4 separate regions of the Homo sapiens genome follow, and regions 2, 3 and 4 are each linked to region 1. Evidence: promoter capture Hi-C in 16 types of primary human blood cells and fetal thymus (Javierre and others, 2016). All regions are on one chromosome and are shown on one strand. The core of a region is centred on a gene start or on the middle of the fragment in contact, and the rest is flanking DNA. Distances in the headings are between cores, read along the strand shown.

Region 1 (2,984 bases), core at 154-2,653:
GCCCCCAAGGAGGTGGAGCAAAATCCCCGACTCCTTACGTGTGGGCTGTGCATGGGGACGTCCTTCCAAAGAGTACAGTAGAGAAAAGAGGGGTGGGGGGACCTGACAAACACTACTTCAGTCAAGTGATCAAGTCAGCACCAACAGTGGTAAGTAACGTTGAACAGTAAGAACCCTTCCTTGGTAGGATGTGATGAGCATAGCACTTTACCTCTGTGATCTTCCTTCCAAAACGCCATAACGCTTGTCTAATCCTGAGAAAAACATCAAATCCCAATAGAGGGCCAGCCCACCAAAGATTTGGCCAGTACTCCTCAAAACTATCAAGGTCATCAAAAATAAAAAGCTGAGGCCAGGCGCGGTGGCTCACGCCTGTAATCCCAGCACTTTGGGAGGCTGAGACGGGCAGATCATGAGGTCAGATCAAGACCATCCTGGCCAACATGGTGAAACCCCGTCTCTACCAAAAATACAAAAATTAGCCGGGCATGGTGGTGTGTGCCTGTAATCCCAGCTGCTCAGGAGGCTGAGACAGGAGAATCGCTTGAACCTGGGAGGCAGAGGTTGCAGTGAGCTGAGATCATGCCACTGCACTCCAGCTAAAATAAAAATAAAAGGCTGAGACACTGTCATTAACAGTAGTCTAAGACATGACAACGAAATATAATGTGGTATCCTGAATGGAAACCTGCAGCAGAAAAAGGCATTAAGTAAAAGGAAGGAAATCTGAATAAACTACACTTTAGTTAATATGACAACAGTGCATCGTTAATTTTAACAAATGTAGCACACTAATAATGTAAGATTTTAGTAATAGGGGAAATTGCAGGGATGGGTGGCACATGGGAACTCTCTACTATCTTCTCAATTTTTCTGTAAATCTGTTCTAAAAAATAACGTCCGTTATTATTATTATTATTATTATTATTATTTGCGGGGAGGGGACACAGTCTTGCTCTGTCTCCCAGGCTGGAGTGCAGTGGTGAGATCTCGGCTCACTGCAATCTCCGCCTCCTGGGTTCAAGCGATTCTCATGTGTCAGCCTCCCCAGTAGCTAGGGCTACAGGTGCCTACCACCACACCCGGCTAATTTTATATTTTTAGTAGAGACGTGGTTTCACCATGTTGGTCAGGCTGGTCTCGAACTCCTGACCTCAGGTGATCCGCCCGCCTCAGCCTCCCAAAGGGCTGGGATTACAGGCAGGAGCCACCATGCCTGGCAAAAATAACGTCCATAAACAAAAACACGTGGCCAACAGGGGCGGAGCAGAACCGAGTTTCCGGAAGCAAAACAGGGCTTTGTACCGAACAAAGATGGCGGCCGCCGGCGTCGGGAGGAGGGCTGCCCTGAAGAAAGATGGCCTCCGCGAGAGGAGGAACCGGAAGCGTGGGTCTGGCGGCTGCACCGGTTCGCGGTCGGCGCGAGAACAAGCAGGGTGGCGCGGGTCCGGGCATGAAGCTGGGCCGGGCCGTGCTGGGCCTGCTGCTGCTGGCGCCGTCCGTGGTGCAGGCGGTGGAGCCCATCAGCCTGGGACTGGCCCTGGCCGGCGTCCTCACCGGCTACATCTACCCGCGTCTCTACTGCCTCTTCGCCGAGTGCTGCGGGCAGAAGCGGAGCCTTAGCCGGGAGGGTAGGCTGGGGCGGGGGCTGGAGGCTGGGGCTGGGGCTGGGGCTGGGCGATGGCACTAGGGCTGAACTAGGACCAGGGCATGGAGAATGGAGGATGGAGGCCGGGGGATGGCACCAGGGCCGGGCTAGGACTAGGGCTGGAGCGGGGCCTGGGGGCTGGGGCTGGGCGATGGCACTAGGGCCGGGTTGGGGCTGGGGCTGGGGCTGGGGGATGGAGCGGGGCCCGGGGGCTGGGGGTGGGGCTGGGGGATCGCACTAGGGCTGGGTTAAGACCAGGGCGGTTGGCTGGGGCTAGGGGATTGAGGATGGTGGATGGAGGCTGGGGGATGGCAGTAGGGCCGGGCTAGGACTGGGGCTGGAGCGGAGTTTGGGGGCTGGGGCTCAGGAGCGGGGGCTGGGGCTGGGGCTGGGGCTGGGGGATGGCACTAGGGCCAGGCCGGGGTAGGGGTCACATCCCAGGAGGGCCGGGCCTGGGCAGAGCTGAGTCCGCGGGGGCCGGACCCCGGAAGCCAAGCGGCCGGCCTGCAGGATGAGGCCTGGCTCCTCGGCCATGACCACAGACGTGCCAGACTTAAGTCGGAGACCTGAGGAGCCAGGCTGCAGGTTGGCCTACTTTGCGCTAAGCTGGGGGTGGACCAGTGGTAACCTCCCTCCGAAGTGGGTTCTGCCTCCTTTCTAGCCTAGCGGGAGACAGGAAGGATGGTGAGGACTCTTCCGCAGCCGACCAGGAGGGACCAAACTGTTTCCTTTCCCGGCTCTGCCTTGGGGTGGGAGGAGCAGCACAGGGGTTAGGGGTGCAAACTGGTGGCAGTGGCAGTGGCACCAAGGGGCTTTTCGGGAAGGAGTCGGGCCAGGGCTTTAGAATAGGCAGGACCAGCAAAGGGAGGGCTCCCTGGACCGCCGTCCCCTCTGGGCCAGGAGCTTACAGACCGCAGTACTTGAGGTTTCGCAAGGTGCTTGGAGGGCGTCTAGACGGCTTTGCTGGCTTTCTTATGGGCTGTAAATGTGGCTACATTTTGCCGCTGTTTCTTCCCCACTCCTGATTGGCTTTGTCTTTCCCAGCACTGCAGAAGGATCTGGACGACAACCTCTTTGGACAGCATCTTGCAAAGAAAATCATCTTAAATGCCGTGTTTGGTTTCATAAACAACCCAAAGCCCAAGAAACCTCTCACGCTCTCCCTGCACGGGTGGACAGGCACCGGCAAAAATTTCGTCAGCAAGATCATCGCAGAGAATATTTACGAGGGTGGTCTGAACAGTGACTATGTCCACCTGTTTGTGGCCACATTGCACTTTCCACATGCTTCAAACATCACCTTGTACAAGGCAAGGATGGAAGTTTGGAATCCCTT
Region 2 (2,984 bases), core at 163-2,662, 790 kb after region 1:
CAGCAGCTACTATTTCCCAAGCTCTTATTCCAGGCCAGATCCAGAACAGGCTCTCCACGACAGGCTTTGGGTCCAGTCCTCTCAGAACCCTCGCAATGGCCAATGTTTATCTCAAGGATGGGGAAACGCGGAGGCTCTGAGATGAGGCAGCCTGCCTGAGGTCACCGAGTACTAAGCGGCCAAGCTCTGGGGGATCTCAAGGCTGTGGCAGGGTTTCCCAGCTTCTGCCTGCTACAACTGCCACTGCTCCTTCCAGGCCACAACTGTAGGACTTCTGGGCCCCCAAGTGAGAAGCCCACATGGTGTTAAAGATGAGCCTGAACAAATAAACGCTACAGGGGTGACTGAGGCCCACTGTTTGCGGGAGAGTCCAGAGCAGCCCCTGCTGTCCCCACTGGGAGGCAGAGCCTGCAGGTGCGAGGTAACATCACCAGCCCCCAAGCCTGCTTCACTCCAGGGATGGATCCAAATCCAGTCAACCCACACTGTGTCCGTCCCCCTGGCACCCTGTCCGTCCTCCAGGGCCTAAGCTGAGACCCCTCCACCTCCTCTCCACAATGAAAAGCCCACGGCAAGGTCCCCTACCAAATGGACACTTCTACTGCTGTGTAGGGCCTGGCCCCACTTGGGCAGCCATCTCTTGTGCCCTACAATCTTAGGCGGACACCTCCTCATTCCACCGTCACCACAGCACTTACAGCACCCTCAGCCTGGGTGCCTAAGCATATCATCCTACGCGCCTCCTCCCCTGCGCTAGACCACCCCACTAATGACTCTGGCCTGTGCACTCACTCATTCCGTCTGGACCCCAACAACGTCCCCGACTCCCTTGAGCCACTCTGCCCAGTCTCCTATTCACCCCATGCCGGACCCCTCAATAGTCCCACCATGCCGGGCACCGGGCATCCCCGCGTTGGACCTCAGCAATATCCCCGTCTTCAGAAATTGCTCACTCCACCCCAGGCATCTTGGGCAGCCCCTTCTTCTCTTGCCCCCACCCCGGAATATCATTGAAACTCACCCAGGTACCCTCTGGCGCCGCTCACGGCCCGCACGCCTGCTCCTTCCATCCCGGGTGCTCTCCCCGCCTCGGATCGGGTACCTGCGCGCCTGCTCCAATCCCCGCCACGTTCCAGGCCCGGGCATCACCTCCCTGACCCAAGTACCTTCTCGTTCCGCTCCCAAGCAAGGCACCCTCTCGCACCGTCCCCGGCCCGGGTACCCACTCATTCCAACCCCGACACCTTCCTGGTCCTGTTGGGCCCGGACACCTGCGCCTACTCGGTCCTCCGCTCAAGTCCCGGCCCTGCCGCGCTGCCCGCCCGCCTTGGGGGCTCGGCCGGGGCCGATACTCACCCGGGATGCCATCGCTGCGGAAGGGCAGCGTCTCCTTCCCCGGCGGCTGCGCAACCAAACCGGCCGCCCGGGGGCGTGGCCTAGCGCCAAGCCCCCACCCTCTTCTGGCCAATGAGCATCGCTGAGTCTCTCAGGGCCGCCGCAGCCTCTGGCCAATTAGGCGGGTCATGTGACCAAGCTTATATTCCGCCTCTCCCGCCCTCTTCCCCTCCTCCTAGTGCGGTTGAAGCGCGAAAGTGGTCTCTTCTCTTCTACTATTGGTCATTCAGATTAGATCGACATGGGCGGCTGGGTGGGGCGGGGCCATTCTTAAAGGGGCTGAAGCGGAGCAGTCAGACCTCCAAGGGGCTTTCTTGGAGTACGCCAAAGCAGGCTGAGCCCTCGTATTAGGATCCTCTATTCTTGTTCCACACAAGGACAAATCCTTCCCACTCTCCAAGCGCCCATTTTCAAATACTACCGCCCCTGACTTCCCGCAGCATGCTCTTATACTGTCGCCACTCTCCCCCTTGTTCTGGAGTTGTTTGCAAAAGTGCCAGGTCTCGCCGCTAGACAGTGTCTCTCTGAGAGCTGGAGTCAAGGGGTCTTCAGTTCTGGCCACCTATCTGGGTCTTACACTAAATACCAGGATTGAGATCAGGCCGACCTGAGATAGAATCAAGTGTTGCCACTTCAGCTCTCTAGAGCTTACCCCTCTATGAAATAGGGATGAGGCCGGGCGCGGTGGCTCACGCCTGTAATCCTAGCAGTTTGGGAGGCCGAGGTGGGTGGATCACGAGGTCAGGAGTTCGAGACCAGCCTGGCCAACCTGGTGAAACCCTGTCTCCACTAAAGATTAAAAAAAAAAATTAGCCAAGCTTGGTAGCACACACCTGTAATCCCAGCTACTCAGGAGGCTGAGGCAGGAGAATCTCTTGAACCCGGGAGGCAGAGGTTGCAGTGAGCTGAGATCCACCCATTGCACTCCAACCTGGGCCAAAGGGCGAGACTCCGTCTCAAAAAGAAAAAAAGAAATAGGGATAAAATCTTCCCTTTCCCAAATCATAGGGCTTTGGTGAGGATGGAAAGAGGACGGTGTATCAGCCCTTCCATAACTGCGAAGAGCTGGGCACAACTACGTTTTAAAATTGTAATCGTCGGCCGGTAGCAGTGGCTCATGCCTCTATTCCCAGCACTTTGGGAGGCTGAGGTGAGTGGATCACATGAGGTCAGGAGTTCGAGACCAGCCTGGCCAAAATGGTGAAAACCGGTCTCTACTAAAAATAAAAAAGCTAGCTGGGCGTGGTGGCACACACCTATAATCCCAGCTACTTGGGAGGCTGAGGCAGGAGAATTGCTTGAGCCGGGAGGAGGAGATTGCAGTTAACCAAGATCACGCCACTGCACTCCAGCCTGGGCAACAGAGCCAGACTCCATCTCAAAAAAAAAAAAAAAAAAAAAGCCCGGGAGCAGTGGCTCACGCCTGTAATCCCAGCACTTTGAGAGGCCAAGGCAGGTGGATCATGAGGTCAGGAGATCGAGACAATCCTGCCCAACATGGTGAAACCCCATCTTTACTAAAAATATAAAAATTAGCCCAGCATTGTGGCGTGTGCCTGTAGTCCCAGCTATTCAGGAGGCTGAGGCAG
Region 3 (2,984 bases), core at 361-2,860, 700 kb after region 1:
AAAAGGAATCAGACAGGTTTAGATGGCCCCAAGCCCCAGTGAGGACAAGGCATAGAAGCTGTAGGGTGTGGGTCTCCTGGAGAATCTGCCCAGCATGCAAGGACCCCTGTGCCCAGCCTTCTGCATGAGCAACACTCTCCAGCCCAGCTCACCAGGCCGGGAGCAGGAGCCTGACGAGAACTGGGCCAGAGGCCTTCCCTGAGAAATTGAAATTGGCTTTCTTTTGCTCAGTCTGTCTTTCCACAGCCTGTACCACAAGCCTGAGAGGTACAAGTAGTTATCTTCTGCCCATCATTTCAGCTGAGCAGCAGAGAAAGCCAGTCTGTGCCCAGTGCTCTGGGTCCCAGCTCCCAGGTATTTGCAGGCTTAGCCATATCCCTGGCCAAAGTTTCCATGAGATAGCCTCTTCTCCCCTTGAGGCACTGGCTGCCACACTTGCTGTTACTTGCAGCCAAGAATCAAAGTGACTCGCTCCATCATTTCAAACACTCATGTTCAGCCAATACAGCAACACTCAAGGGGCAATGGCTTAAGAGAACCAGGAGCGGAACTCTCCCGGGCTACCCTGGCAGCAGCCTGAAAAAGTAGGCAACCTTCCTGATAAAGCATCTCTGAGTACTGCCTCTGAAGGGAAGAGACAGCCAGCTCCCCTGTCACCTTTCTCCCTAGCTTCTGAAAAGTCAGGCTCCAAGAGCAAGAAGGGCCAGGAACTCACCGCCCGTCATGCTAGGAAAACCACTGTCTTTGAAAAGCCCAAGTTTCTCACCACAGTTCCAAATGGTACCTGAGAACGCTTCCATTTGCCCATGTCTGGAACTGTGTGGATCTCCTTTTTTGGAATGATGAAGTTCTGAGTGGCTGGAGGGGCCTCCTCTGAAGAATCTTGACAAAAAAAAATGAAAAAACAAACAGATAAATAGAATCCTCCCCTACAACACACACACTCCCTTTCACCTTTTTTTTTTTTCTTGAGACGGAGTTTTGCTCTTGTTGCCCAGGCTGGAGTCCAGTGACACGATCTTGGCTCAATGCAACCTCCACCTCCAGGGTTCAAGCGATTCTCCTGCCTCAGTCTCCTGAGTAGCTGAGATTACAGGCACGTGCCACCACACCCAGCTAATTTTTTTTTTTTTCTTTGAGACAGAGTCTCGCTCTGTCGCCCAGGCTGGAGTGCAGTGGCGCGATCTCAGCTCACTGCAACCTCTGCCTCCCGGGTTCAAGCGATTCTCCTGCCTCAGTGTTCTGAGTAGCTGGGATTACAGACGTATGTCACCATGCCTAGCTAATTTTTGCATTTTTAGTAGAGACGGGGTTTCACCATGTTGGCCAGGCTGATCGCAAACTCCTGACCTCAGGTGATCCACCCGCCTTGGCCTCCAAAGTGTTGGGATTACAGGTATGAGCCAAAGCGCCCGGCCTCTCTCTCACTTTTAAACCAGGACTCCAACACCTGAGCCTTAGAATAAACCAGACACATACTTCCAGGACAGAGTAAGGGCTTGTTAAGCCAAACCCACAGCCTCCTGCCCTCCCTCACTCTGGGGAGGAAAGAGAAGGGCAATACTGACAATCCCTTCAATAACCATGCCCTCCCTTCCCTCTCCCCCCCAGAGCAGAACCGTTAGAAAAATAAAACCAAGTTGATGTTTCAGACATACACAGGCAATTCACAGAAGAAAAAAAAACAGGTCAGGTGCGGTGGCTCACGCCTGTAATCCCAGCACTTTGGGAGGCCAAGGCAGGCAGATCACAAGGTAAGGAGATCGAGACCATCCTGGCTAACATGGTGAAATCCCATCTCTACTAAAAAAGTACAAAAAAATTAGCCAGGCGTGGTGGCGGGCGCCTGCGGTCCCAGCTACTTGGGAGGCTGAGGCAGAAGAATGGCGTGAACCTGGGAGGCGGAGCTTGTGGTGAGCCGAGATTGCACCACTGCACTCCAACCCAGGCAACAGAGCGAGACTTCGTCTCAAAAAAAAAAAAAAAACCTAATTGCAGTAAACATTTGGAATAAATTGCCAACCTCCTGAATAAGCACGGACACGTAAATTATATGTGATTTCTCTTTCTGGATAAGGTTGGCAAATTAAAAACATCTGGCTAGGTGTGGTGGCTCATACCTAATCCCAGCAATTTGGGAGGCCAAGGCAGGCAGATCACTTGAGGCCAGGGGTTCAAGACCAGGCTGGCCAACTTGGCAAAACGCCATCTTTACAAAAAAAATTTAAAAATTAGCTGGGTGTGGTTGCATACCTGTAGTCCCAGCTACTTGGGAGGCTGAAGCAGGAGGATCACCTGAGTCCAGGAGGTGGGGGTTGCAGTGAGCTGAGATCATACCACTGCACTCCAGCCTGGACAACAGAACGAGACTCTGTCTCAATAAAAACAAAACAAGATTCCAGGAAGAGGAAACAAGAATTCTCCCGCTCTGTGGGTGGGAAGGACCTCCTAAGGGGACAATCTTTTGGAATAAAAAACTGCATATACACAATGAGTCAACAGGTCTACTTACAGGAATCTATCTTTCAGATGTGCTCACGGAAACACAAAGGTGTTTAATGCATCAAAAAAAAAAAAAAAAGCTGGGCATAGTGGCTCACACCTGTAATCTCAGCACTTTGGGAGCCCCAGGTGGGAGGATCACTTGAGTCCAGGAGTTTGACACCAACCTGGGCAACACAGCGAGACCCCATCTCTACTTTAAAAAAAAAAAAATTTTAGGCGGGGCGCGGTGGCTCATGCCTACAATCCCAGCACTTTGGGAGGCCAAAGTGGGTGGATCACACCTGAGGTCAGGAGTTGGAGATGCGCCTGACCAACATAGTGAAACCCCATTTCTACTAAAAATATAAAATTATTCAGGTGTGGTGGCGCATGCCTATAATCCCAGCTACTTGGGAGGCTGAGGAAGGAGAATTGCTTGAACCAGGAGGCAGAGGTTGCAGTGAGCCAAGATCGTGCCATCGCACTCCAGCCTAGGCAAC
Region 4 (2,984 bases), core at 207-2,706, 690 kb after region 1:
GCTCCGGCCGGCCCTGCCATTTTGGGCAGCAGCTCTGGCTCTTCTGATCCACTGTAAGGCCACCAGCCTTGGTTCATCTGAGCCTGGAGGCAGCCATGGGCTTCTCTCTCACCCCTCCTCCTCACCTCGGTAATAAACAGGATACACTCCAGGAACATGTAGTCCTTGTGGTTCTCATTCACGGCCTTCTCATCCACAAAGTGTCTGGGCTCCAGGTATGGGTGGTCTGGGAAAAGGAATGGGCCCCAGCATTCAGAACCAGGCCCCACGACTACCTGGGCAACCCGGCCCAGCAGTCACACCCCCCCAGGGGCCTCAGTCCTGCCCGTGGTGCCCTCAACACCTCACCTTGAAGGAGCAATAAGTAACTCTGGGTTTGTGTATTCTAATGTGCTAAGCTCTAGCTGCATGGCGTTGGACGCATGACTTCAGCCTGCCAAGGTTCAGTTTCCTCACCTGGACACTGGGGACAAGAAGAGCACCTCCTCCTAGGGGCCATGACAACAATTACCACACCTACAGCACTCAGTATGGTGCCTGGTGCAGGTGCCAGTCAGCAGAGCCGGCTTCATGCTGGCAGACCCTTCGCAGTGTCACTGAGAAGATTCGGGGAGGCAATGCACCCGAGGCCACAACTAATGGTCATTTATGAATATCAGTCTGTAGGCAGTTCATTCTTCATCAAAATAGAGATGATCACCTACGCCCATCCTGAAAACTAGCTTCAAGAGTTGGGGAGTCACCAGAGCAGGCCTCTCTGAGCCCCACAGGAAGCAGGCCCACCACCCAGCACTTGGCGGCTGCTCCCTAACGGGCCCCTTTGCACACAGCTCGATAATAACAGTGGATGACACTGGTCACCAAATCAAAAGGGTCCCTCATTTTCAACATAAAACCCCACAGCTGCTGCCAGGAGCTGGGGCGCATTTCACACCAGTCCATTATGCACCAGGCGTGCGCCCTTGCTCCAGCCCATGTCACTTCCCATTATCTTGGTGGCGCTTGGCCTCCGCCTCCTCCAGCCCACCACACGGGCTCTCACAGCAGAAGGTCGACAGTAAACAGCCTCCCTCAATAGCTGGTCTAATGCCCTGCTTTCCAAGCTGTCACTGTCTGCCCTGGGCAGGAAGAAGGGAAGGAGGGAGCGCAGGAGGGGCAGGGGAGGGCCACAGAACGCAGCCTTGGTTGGGGGTGGAGGGATAGGCACCTCCCGCTCTAGTACCTATCAGCTGCGAACTGCCCCAGATGAAGGGCAGAAACTGGAAGTCATCCAGACCCCACACTCCCTGGCTGCCGGCTGGCTCCATCCTGTATGTTTTCTGGAGTTTCCGCATAACCTCAAGGTACCTGCACAGGAGGACAGGGAAAGGGAAGGTAGCAAAAAGTAAAAAGACAGTCTCACCCTTTCGGCCACTGGGAGCACAAGGAGACCCCAAAATAACCACTGAAGAGTGTTAACTGGTCTCAATTTCAATAATGTAGCTTTATTTCCCCCAACAAACACTCAGCCATCTTTTGGCTCAGGAAAGGCATAAAAATCACTGATTAAGGGCCCGGGCACGGTGGCTCACGCCTGTAATCCCAGCACTTTGGGAGGCCGAGGCAGGCGGATCACAAGGTCAGGAGATCGAGACCATCCTGGCCAACACGGTGAAACCCCGTCTCTACTAAAAATCCAAAAAATCAGCCAGGTGTGGTGGTGGGCGCCTGTGGTCCCAGCTACTCTGGAGGCTGAGGCAGGAGAATGGCATGAACCCAGGAGGCAGAGCTTGCAGTGAGCCGAGATCTCTCCACTGCACTCCAGCCTGGGCGACAGAGCAAGACCCTGTCTCAAAAAAAATAAACAAATAAATAAATAAAAAATCACTGATTAGGAAGGTGGGTTTTGGTGCCATCAACTCCTGACAACTTGTAAAACCCTGGGCAGGGCCTCAGCCTCTCCAGCCTCAGTTGGCCTGTCTGAAAGCTAACACAAGTCCCAGCAGGTTATCTCCTAGGTTCTTCTGGTTCCAACCTTCTATATTATCAGAGGCTGCATATCAACCACCTGTGAAGCATCGAGCACTGCTCCTGGGCTCCGTCACAGGCCTGCTGCAGCAGCACTGCTAGACTGGGGCCCGCAATGGGGATTTTAAGAGCTCTGGGTAACTGATCCACATCAGTGCTGCCCAGCGACTGGCTTGGGTGGTGTGGGGCAGCAGGTCAGAGTCTGACTACCTGGGTTCAGCTGGCGTGAACCCAGTGAAGACACCGGATATCTCTGTGCCTCAGTTTCCTCATATGTAAAATGGAAATAACAGTTGCTATTTCATAGGGTTGTTGTTAGAATTAATGAGTTATACATAAAGTGCTTAGAATTCTTCCTCCATATGGTCAACACTGTGTCAATACTGGCAGACATTATGTGACAATTCTTTTTTTTTTTAAGACAGAGTCTCACTCTGTCACCCAGGCTGGAGTACAGTGGCACGATCTCAGCTCACTGCAACCTCCGCCTCCTGGGTTCAAGCAATTCTTCTGCCTCAGCCTCCTGAGTAGCTGGAATTACAGGCGAGTGCCACCACGCCCAGCTAATTCTTGTATTTTTAGTAGAGACGGGGTTTCATCATGTTGGCCAGGCTGGTGTCGAACACCTGACCTCGTGATCCGCCTGCCTGGGCCTCCCAAAGTCCTGGGATTACAGGCGTGAGCCACCGCGCCCGGCCTATGTGACAATTCTTTCACTTGCTTTTACTTGGAGGTTAATTTGAACCTGTTGGAAAAAAGGCTTGGACACTCCATCCACAGCCAGAGCTTGATTAGGACAGGACAAGAGAACCATGAGCTACTCAGGAGAACCCTAGAGCACCCCATTTCCCAGTTTGAGGAGGAAACAGATGGCCCCTCACGCCCCCTCCTCCAACCCTCCTGTCCTTTCTCTCACCGATTGAACACCTTGAAGACAATAGCTATTTGGTCATCCACCCGGAGCACCCCAATCTTGC

What was found. The method cuts DNA at HindIII sites, captures the fragments that hold promoters and counts their contacts. A CHiCAGO score of 5 or more calls a contact.
Region 2: a contact is called between the fragment with the promoter of MIGA2 here and the fragment with the promoter of TOR1A in region 1, in 4 of 17 cell types (naive B cells, monocytes, total B cells and 1 more). The highest score is 6.7, in naive B cells.
Region 3: a contact is called between a fragment that was not itself captured here and the fragment with the promoter of TOR1A in region 1, in 2 of 17 cell types (naive CD8 T cells and naive CD4 T cells). The highest score is 5.2, in naive CD8 T cells.
Region 4: a fragment that was not itself captured here is called in contact with the fragment with the promoter of TOR1A in region 1 in 3 of 17 cell types (fetal thymus, naive CD4 T cells and activated CD4 T cells); the score reaches 6.0 in fetal thymus.

The regions. Positions count from the first base shown.
Region 1 is chr9:129,822,555-129,825,538 of GRCh38, reverse strand. TOR1A (torsin family 1 member A) reads left to right here and starts at 1,403. Exons shown (of 5, transcript NM_000113.3): 1 at 1,403-1,631; 2 at 2,693-2,958. The coding sequence starts at 1,454. RefSeq lists an enhancer at 1,209-1,518 and a silencer at 1,929-2,018. The HindIII fragment of the contact is 11,037 bases long and covers 1-2,984 here.
Region 2 is chr9:129,035,054-129,038,037 of GRCh38, reverse strand. MIGA2 (mitoguardin 2) reads right to left here and starts at 1,412. Exons shown (of 16, transcript NM_001329990.2): 1 at 1,357-1,412. RefSeq lists an enhancer at 828-957 and a silencer at 1,298-1,427. The HindIII fragment of the contact is 1,706 bases long and covers 1-1,536 here.
Region 3 is chr9:129,118,411-129,121,394 of GRCh38, reverse strand. It overlaps PTPA (protein phosphatase 2 phosphatase activator), which reads right to left. Exons shown (of 10, transcript NM_178000.3): 2 at 785-882. Among named protein-coding and RNA genes, the nearest start is that of PTPA, 8.5 kb to the right of the region's middle. The HindIII fragment of the contact is 9,099 bases long and covers 1-2,984 here.
Region 4 is chr9:129,134,834-129,137,817 of GRCh38, reverse strand. PTPA (protein phosphatase 2 phosphatase activator) reads right to left here. Exons shown (of 10, transcript NM_178000.3): 6 at 2,924-2,984; 7 at 1,223-1,347; 8 at 126-226. Among named protein-coding and RNA genes, the nearest start is that of PTPA, 25 kb to the right of the region's middle. The HindIII fragment of the contact is 5,800 bases long and covers 1-2,984 here.